Regions from separate parts of the Homo sapiens genome. Here region 1 is linked to region 2. The links are contacts of gene promoters, found by promoter capture Hi-C in human tissues and cell types (Jung and others, 2019). All regions are on one chromosome and are shown on one strand. The core of a region is centred on a gene start or on the middle of the fragment in contact, and the rest is flanking DNA. Distances in the headings are between cores, read along the strand shown.

Evidence for each region. The method cuts DNA at HindIII sites, captures the fragments that hold promoters and counts their contacts. A contact is called where the count stands out against the background at its distance.
Region 1: a contact is called between a fragment that was not itself captured here and the fragment with the promoter of TEDDM1 in region 2, in 1 of the 25 tissues and cell types used here (hippocampus).

Annotation. Positions count from the first base shown.
Region 1 is chr1:182,364,369-182,369,100 of GRCh38, reverse strand. No RefSeq gene overlaps it. Among named protein-coding and RNA genes, the nearest start is that of GLUL, 25 kb to the left of the region's middle. The HindIII fragment of the contact is 9,592 bases long and covers 1-4,732 here.
Region 2 is chr1:182,398,606-182,403,346 of GRCh38, reverse strand. TEDDM1 (transmembrane epididymal protein 1) reads left to right here and starts at 2,680. Exons shown (of 1, transcript NM_172000.4): 1 at 2,680-4,741. The coding sequence starts at 2,862. The coding sequence ends at 3,683. The HindIII fragment of the contact is 14,950 bases long and covers 1-4,741 here.

The sequences.
Region 1 (4,732 bases), core at 268-2,767, 33 kb after region 2:
AGAAGAACAACAAAAAAGAAACTGTATTCTTGGTGCGTGGTCCTTTGCTTTCATGTCACAGAAAAGGCACATTTATAACTCAGGGAAGTTTGACTTCTTGGTGCCTCCGTGTTCTGTCTTCTCCCTTGCAAAGCAGAGCCGTCCAGTTTTTAATGAACACTGACTGGGAGGTGACTTTCTGCTGGGATAGAGAAGGGAGAGAACAAGAGAAGATCCTGAAGGAAATATGTCATATCCTTTTTCGCTTTCCTTTGTGATCTGAAAAGACTTAAGCGTAACAAAGATGGCTCTAATATATTTTTAAAGTACTGCAGTGGGAGATAAAATAAACAGATGGGAGGGAACACAAACAGCTTGAATTTTCCCCTATGATTCTCACTGTTCACTGGGCTCCCTCCATCTAAGTACTACGGGATAGCAAACCTGTCGCAGCTTCAGGATATTCCTATAAGGCAGGTAGAGGGGAGATTCGAGTAAAGAAAGGAACACAGCATTTAAGGGTGGTGTCCCTGAAGTCTCTAAAATGCTTTCTCAATATGAAAGTGGCAATTAGTATGCAGCGAGTATATTCTTTGGCCACATATGTTTTGCTTTTCAAAAAGCAAAGCACTTATTTGCATGCTATTTGTTTTTAACTGTCAGGGAGACACTAGACTAAGCTAGAAATAAACTTTCACCTTCCTTCCACCTTTTCCTCAAACATCACAACCATAGAAGAGTCAGTCCTCTGAAATTCCAAACTACCCAAGCCAAAGACTTCTGTGTTCTTAGCACCATTTCCTTTCTATACCTGCAGTATGAGATAATTGTAAACTTTAAAAATCACTCTAGACCTAACTCCAGAGGAGGGAGAGAGGGAGTATGTATTTTTATGAACCATCTCAAATGGTTCTTATTAGTTCAGTTCAGGAAATACCTAACAGCCGGCTTTAGAGTGCTGAGCAAAACCTTGATTTTGGACTCCAAGGACTTTTGGTCACTCTCCATCTGGCACTGATTTACTTAAATTCATCCAGATTAATTTTTTTATACTTGTAGAGTGGGAATTATAATACTCTAAACTGCAGATGAGAGCTTGTTGCTAAAAGCCTAGTCCCCTCCTCCGTACATTAAGACTATTCTGGACCATACTTTGAGCTGATTACCCAAGACCAATTCCATCAAGCCCCCTTCCCTGTTTTTCTGTTTTGTTTGGTTTTTTTTTTTGTTTTTGAGATGGAGTCTCGCTTTGTCACCCAGGCTGGAGTGCAATGGCATGATCTTGACTTACTGCAACCTCTGCCTCCCAGGTTCAAACGATTCTCCTGCCTCAGCCTCCCAAGTAGCTGGGACTACATGTGCGCACCACCATGCCCAGCTAATTTTGTATTTTTTAGTAGAGACGGGGTTTCACCATACTGGACGGACTGGTCTCAAACTCCTGACCTTGTGATCCACCTGCCTCGGCCTCCCAAAGTGCTGGGATTACAGGCATGAGCCACCACACCTGGCCTTCCCTGTTTTTCTGAATTCAGCAGAGCTTCAAACCTCAAATTTTATCACAGGGTCTTCACACCTACACTGCTCCACACAGTCCTTAATGCGGACCAATGTACTCTTCTCTTCCTCATATCACACCTTTCTAACTGTGCTCCCTGGGGCCCCTGGTTTGTGGCTTTGTTTAAAGTCCTAACTTATTCTCTGCACATTCCCCCCATCTCATTGTCTTAACAGACAAGGCTTTCCTTCACGGCCAGCTGGACGTATGAGTCCAGAGCTCTTGGCTTCCCAGATATCTCCATGGGTTCTTGGCTCTTCCTCATCCTCCACACCACATCTGGCCTTTCCTTTTCAATCTCTTTACCTGGCTTCTCCTCCTTTGACTGGCTCCAACCTCTAAATTTTTGAGATTTTCCAGAGCTCTGTTCTAGACTGTTTTTAATGTACTTCTCTCCATAAGTAATCTCATTCCGTTTACATGTCCCAATCTTTAGTTTCAGTCCATATCTCTCTCTTGGGCTCTGACTTGTACATCCCACTACCTACTTGACAACCCCACTTGGATTTCTCCCTTTTTTCATTTTTTATGACACCACACCATTGAATGGATTTCTAATAAGAATCTAAAACTTGAATATGTCCAATATGGAACTACTGATTTCAGAGCCCTTACCTTCCTTCCTTCCTTCCTTCCTTTATTACTTTCTTCCTTCCTCCCTCCCTCCCTTCCTCCCTTTCTCTCTCTCTCTCTTTCTTTCTTTTTGAGGCGAGGTCTTGCTCTGTCACCCAGGCTGGAGTACATGCAGTGATGCAATCATGCCTCACGCCAGCCTTGACCTCCTGGGCTCAAGCAATTCTCTTACCTCAACCTCTTGAGTAGCTGGGACCACAGGCATGTATCACCATGCCCTGCCAATTTTTAAACTTTTGTGGCAACAGAGTCTCACTATGTGGCCAGGCTGATCTCAAACTCCTAGACTCAAGCAATCCTCCAGCCTCAGCCTCCCACAGTCTTGGGATTACAGGTGTCAGCCACCACACTTGGCCTCAGACCCTCTTTCTAAGACTCTTCTTCCTTATCTCTCTGGCACCTTCCATTGTTACCCTACACCTGGTGATGAACCTTGATTTCTCCTTTCCACTTATGGCATGCTTTCTCCCCATCTTGTCCATCAGCAAATAGTGCACATTTTATTGACAATTATATTTTGAATCCTTCCATTTTTATCCTCTCTACCATCAATTTCTAGTCCAAGTCACCATCATCTCTCAGTCGTAATTATATTATACCTCATAAATGGTCTTTCTTCTTCAACTGTAATCTTTAATTAATTCCCCAACAGCAACCAGAGTAATCTTTTAGAAACCTAAATCAGATTATGTCCCATCTTTCCTCAAAATTTTTTTTTTTTTTTGAGACAGAGTCTTGCTCTGTTGCCCAGGCTGGAGCTCAGTGGTGTGATCTTGGCTCACTGCAACCTCTGCCTCCCAGGTTGAAGCGATTCTCGTGCCTCAGCCTCCCGAGTAGCTGAGATTACAGGCATGCACCACTACTCCTGGCTAATTTTTGTATTTTAAGTAAAGATGAAGTTTCGCCATGTTGATTCAGGCTGGTCTTGAACTCCTGGCCTCAAGTAATCCACCCGCCTTGGGCTCCCAAAGTGCTGGGATAACAGGTGTGAGCCACTGTGCCCAGCCTCCTCAAGCTTTCTAATGGCTCTCCGCCATTGTTGTAATGAAGTTCAAACTCCATTCTCTCATCTCTTAGACCCTGTACTGATCTGGACCCTCCCTGCTTCTCCAGCTTCATGTCAGAGCAGGGTGCACTTGCTCCTTGTATTCAGCTCCACTGTCCTGCTTTCAGTTCTCAGGCCACTCCAAGACAATGACCTTTGAATTTGCTGCTTCTTCAGGCCCAAGAGGATCATCCTGAAGTTCCAAGAAGAGCTGTCTGATTCTCACAGGTCTCAGAGAAGCCTTCTATCATCACATCATCTAACACCTCTACTCTTTCCTCTGTTAGGTTCCATCACATCAACTTTAGGATTTCTTTTAGGACAAGTATTATAATTAGCACAATGTTATCATCCTTCTTATTCATTTCTGCGTTTGTTATCTGTATTCTTTAGAATAATTATTATTTCCAGTATGATATACTAGAAAGAGTTTGGGACTTGTAATCTAGATTAATTTTAGGTGTCATTATCTATTACAAGATCTTGGCAATTTACTGTCTCTGTGCCTTGCTTTTCTCATCAGTAGAATAAGGTTAATGTAGAATTGTAAGGTTGTTGTTAGGATTGATGACATAACATCTATAAAATATTGCTAAAGATAATTTTTCCTACTACTGAACACTGGGTGTGGCATTTCTAAAGATGTTCACATTCACAAAATTACGTCCCAATAAGGTTATTTTAAGAATGATTTAAGAAGCCTTTATGGAATGTTTTTGCTATAGTTTCCTTCCCAACATAATGGCATGAATGAAGAAATGCTCTACGCACCTTCAATGTTCTGGGCAAACTAGTAGAATGGACAAGAAAGGAAGAAAAAGCTTTCTTTTTTTTTTTTTTTTTTTTTTGGAGACAGGATCTCACTCTGTTGCCCAGGGTGGAGTGCAGTGGTACGATCTCGGCTCACTGCAACCTCTGCCTCCTGGGTTCAAGTGGTTCTCTTGCCTCAGCCTCCCTAGTAGCTGGGATTACAGGCACCTACCATCGCGCCCAGCTAATTTTTTCATTTTTAGTAGAGACCGGTTTCACCTTGTTGGCCAGGCTGGTCTCAAACTCCTGACCTCAAGTGATCTACCCGCCTCAGCCTCCCAAAGTGCTGGGATTACAGGTATGAGCCACTGTGCCCAGCCTCAAAAAAAGCTGTCTTGACCCACATAGTGAAAACCCAGTGAGGCTCAGGGAGAGCATCAGGAGATCCAGTGCAGTCGAGGTAGCATTTTAAAGCAGCTCCATGCAAACTCCTGACTTGGGATGTTCAAAATAAGACTGGCCATTGGAGTTTTGGTTCCTTAGTGACTTTTATTCAAAAGTGTGCTTTCTTTTCTTTTCTCTCTTTTTAAAAAATTTTTTATTTTATTTTATTTTATTTTTTTCTTGAGACAGGGTCTCACTCTGTCACCCAGGCTGTTGTGCAGTGGCACAATCATGGCTCACTGCAGCCTCGACCTCCTGAGCTCAAGTGATCCTCCCATCTCAGCCTCCTAAGTAGCTGGGACCACAGGTGTACACCACCGTGT
Region 2 (4,741 bases), core at 1,431-3,930:
AGAGCTATAATAAAAAAGACACAAGATAACGAGTATTTCTGAAGATGTGGAGAGAAGGTAATCCTTGTACAATATGGTGGAAATGTAAATTGGTTCAGCCATTATGAAAAACAGTATGGAAGTTTCTCAAAAAATTAAAAAAGGACTATCATATGATCCAGCAATCCCACTCCTTGGTATATATCCAAATTAAATGAAATCAGTATCTCAAAGAGATATCTGCACTCTTATGTTACAATAATCAAGATACAGAAACAACCTAAGTTGGGGCCAGGTATGGTGGCTCATGCCTGTAATCACAGTACTTTGGGAGGCTGAGGCGGGTGGATCACTTGAGCCCAGATGGATCCACCAACAGATGGATAAGTAAAGAAACATATATATAATGGTATATTATTCAGCCTTAAAAAAGAAGGAGGTCCTGCTGTTTGCAACAATATGGATGAACCTCAGCTGGGCATGGTGGCTCATGGCTGTAATCCCAGCACTTTGAGAGGCCAAGGTGGGTGGATCGCCTGAGGTCAGGAGTTCGAGACCGGCCTGACCAACATGGTGAAACCCCATCTCTACTAAAAATATAGAAAATTTAAGCGGTGTGGTGGCATGCACCTGTAGTCCCGACTATTCGGGAGGCTGAGTCCGGAGAATTGCTTGAACCCAGCAGGCAGAGGTTGCAGTGAGCTGAGATCGTGCCACTGCACTCCAGCCTGGGCAACAGAGACAGACTCAGTCTCAAAACAAAAAACAAACAAACAAAAAATGTGGTACACTTTAAATACAGTAGTCCTCCCTTACCTGCAGTTTCATGTTCTTAGGTTTCAGTTACTCACAGTTAACTGCAGTCTGAAAATATTATAGTATTTTGAGAGAGAGAGAGAGAAATTATATTCACACTTTTATTTCAGCATCATTTTATAATTGTTCTATTTTATTTTGAGTTATTATTGCTAATCTCTTGCTGTGCCTAATTTGTAAACTAAACTTTATTATAGGTATGTATACATGTATGGGGAAACCAGTATATGTAGGGTTCAGTACTAACCTATCCCAGGTTTCAGGCATCCACTGGGAGTCTTAGAAAGTATCACCCATGGATAAGGAGGGGCTATATAGACATTAATTTTTATAAAAAAAATAAATGGGGGCTGCTTTGCCTATAGAGTAGCCATTCTTTTATTCCTTTTTTTCTTAATAAATGTGCTTTCATTTTAAAAAATAAAAAATAATGAATAAATAAATAAATGGGGCCAGGTACGGTGGCTCACGCCTGTAATCCCAGTACTTTGGGAGGCTGAGGTGGGTGGATCACTTGAGCCCAGGAGTTTGAGACCCAGCATGGACAATGTAGTGAGACCTCATCTCTACAAAAAATAGCTGGATGTGGTGGCTCATGTCTGTTGTCCCAGCTACTCAGCAGCTGAGGCAGGAGGATTGATTGAGCTCAGGAGGTTGAGGCTGCAGTGAGCCGTCATCAAGCCACTGCACTGCAACCTGGGCAACAAAGCGAGACACTGTCTAAAAATAAAAATAAAAATAGAAATAAAAATAAATAAATGAAGACTCTTGCCTTGGATGCAACCCCTCATATGCAGCTGGCTGCTACCTAGTGCTTAGAACTCTTTCTGCCTATATGTGTTAGACACATAGTAAATGATAATTAAAGAGAGAATAAAGTTGAGGACCTAATTCACATTAAAATATAAGCAGTTTGTTGGATCTACTTATCTCAACATATCTGCATTTTAATAAAAAATTATACCTTAACATTCCAAAATTGATCTCAAAAGGTGACATTTTACATTCATCTACTGTTCTTTGGAAAGATAATTTGGGGCAATTGAGCTGCTTTCTTTGTGATCCCCAAAAACTGTTACAGAAGAATGAAGAGGACAAGAGCTCAGTATCTATATATATGAGCACACATCCAAACGTTTATAAACTTTTATGTCTAGGAAGAATGTATTTGCTCTCAGTATATGACCCAACATATGAGTAAGGAGTCTTTTTTTTTTTTGAGACAGTCTCGCTCTGTCACCCAGGCTGGAGTGTAGTGAGATGATCCTGGCCCACTGCAACATCCGCCTCCCGGGTTCAAGTAATTCTCCTGCCTCAGCCTTCCAAGTGGCTGGGATTACAGGCACTCTTTACCATGCCCAGCTAGTTTTTGTATTTTTAGTGGAGATGGGATTTCACCATGTTGGCCAGGCTGATCTCGAACTCCTGACCTCGAGATCTGCCTTGGCCTCCCAAAGTGCTGGGATTACAGGCTTGAGCCACCATGCCTGTCCGAGTAAGGAGTCTTAAAGGATGCATTAAGGTTTGTGAGTAACCCGGGTCTTCTCTGGATAATCTCCGTGCTCAGGCACCTCTCTTTTTCTACTCCGAGCATTGAACAGGGGCAGAAGGAAGCAAGCCATGAGAGAGAGGGACAAGTGTAACCAGAAGGTCCTCAAGGGTCCAAAAGCAGAGCTCCTGAGAGCACAAATTCCCACAGGTGCATACTAAAAAATATTTATGTTTCTACTTTGGCAGAACTCAATTAGTTCCCAGTGTACTGGAATGAAATGGAACAATGAGACCCACCTCACTAAAAACCTAGGCTCCTGTCCAGAACTTTCCAGTCTGTGAGAGAGCAGTGGGCAGAAGGAGATGATAAAAGTAGGTAGAACTTAGCTCTGTATATATAGGCCCAGAACTCGAGAGGCCTGTGAGGGAGAGGAGAGCAGAGAGGTCCTGAGTATTGCTCTTCACGCTTCAGTCGGACAGGCCTGTATTCCATGGGAAAGTCCATTGGCCATTTTTAACTGGGGCTATTTCTTTTCTCTTATGGACTATATCAGGCCACAGTGGTCTCCAAGGGCATGATACTCAAAGGTTGTCTCCTGTATCCTTTGTGCTCTCCCAGGAATAAGCAAAGATGTGCCAGGCTGTGGAAAATAGCCTATGGAGGATTACTAAAGATAGTGACTGGCTCCCTCTTAACATTTTATGTGGTTCTCTGTCTTGATGGCGGGATGGTGCTCATGAGGAAGCAAGTGCCATCAAGGTTCATGTACCCCAAAGAGTGGCAGCACCTCACCATGTTCATCCTCCTCACTCTTAATGGCTGTGTGGACTTCATGAGCAAGAATGTGCTGCCTCAGAGGTGTGTGGGCCTAGAAAAAGGTACCCTGGTCCTGATCATCTACGAGCTCCTGCTGCTGATGGTGTCACATGTTAAAGATTCAGAAGGGGTGGAGCTGCACGTTTATTCTCTGCTCATCTTGGTGGTGTTCCTGCTGTTGCTGGTGTTGACTGCAGAGCTGTGGGCTCCCAACATGTGTCATCTCCAGCTGATGGAGACCTTTCTGATTCTGATGATGGGCTCCTGGCTGATGCAGGCAGGCTTTATTCTATACAGACCCGTCTCTGGCTACCCATGGCAGGACGATGACATCAGTGACATCATGTTTGTCACCACCTTCTTCTGCTGGCATGTGATGATCAATGCCTCATTCCTGTTGGGAATCTATGGCTTCTCTTCCTTTTGGTATCATTGTTTCAGACCCAGCTTGAAGCTGACTGGGCCCAAAGAAGCTCCATATTATGCAAGCACTCCAGGACCCCTCTACAAGTTGCTACAGGAAGTGGAGCAGTCAGAGAAAGAGGACCAGGCTCTCCTCCTTCCAAAGAGCTCCCCCTGAGACAGGGCCTACAGTGGCTGGCACATCGTCCACCTCATCTTCCTCCTGTTGGCTCCTCAGCCACGAGCATGGTACCCTCCTTGGTAAAGGTAATGGCCTTGAAGGCTAGCAGTTGGTCCCGTCTGCTGGTTCATTTTCTTTTCTTCTCTTTTCTTTTTTTTTTTTTTTGAGACAGAGTCTCGCTCTGTTGCCCAGCCTGGAGTGCAATGGCACAATCTCAGCTCAGTGCAACCTCCGCCTCCCGAGTTCAAGCGATTCTCCTGCCTCAGCCTCCCGAGTAGCTGCAATTACAGGAGCCTGCCACCATGCCCGTGCTGGTGCATTTTCTGTCCCTGAGCCTCTAATTACTGAGAAGATAAGGGGAGAGGGATTGAGAAAGAGACGCTGATGGGATTTGCGGGAGGGAGGGAAAAGGACGAGGAGAACACTTCTTCTTAGTGTGCAAGAAAAGCCACTGGGGGAAGAGAATGCAACAAAAGGAAGAGCTGTGAAGGGAGGAGAACAGAGTCTAGCAGTTATGCTGTCATTAGCGTCATCAGGCACAAGGGATTGCCTTTTACCTGAGGGAATAAAGACTTCTCACAACTCAAAACTGGACCCATTCAAATCTCATCTTGATAAAGAAAAGTGGGTACTTTACGTGCTCACCAAAGTGGTGCCACCATGTGGAAATAGCATGATAGAATTTATAATTAATTCATACAGGCTGAAATTATGCTCGCTTTGCCTCCTTCTCTCTCCGCAGCTTTCAAGAATTGGCTTCATTTCAAACTTTACATATAAAGTGAGACTTTTTAAATACTTAATAACATTTCAAATTTCCATAATTTAAATTTGTATAGAATTCAACTGCTATAGCATTTTTATAGCATTCAAATGCTTGGTACTTCCCTGACTTCTCATTTTATTACTCTTATTCTAGCCCAAACTTTCCTTTTCACCATGACCACCCTTGCACATGCAATTTAGCAGATACCATTCTTGGGTCTTTGCAAATTTCTTTTCCTTGCAAATCACAGCCAGTCATCCTACAGTCACATATTTACCATGTTATTCGA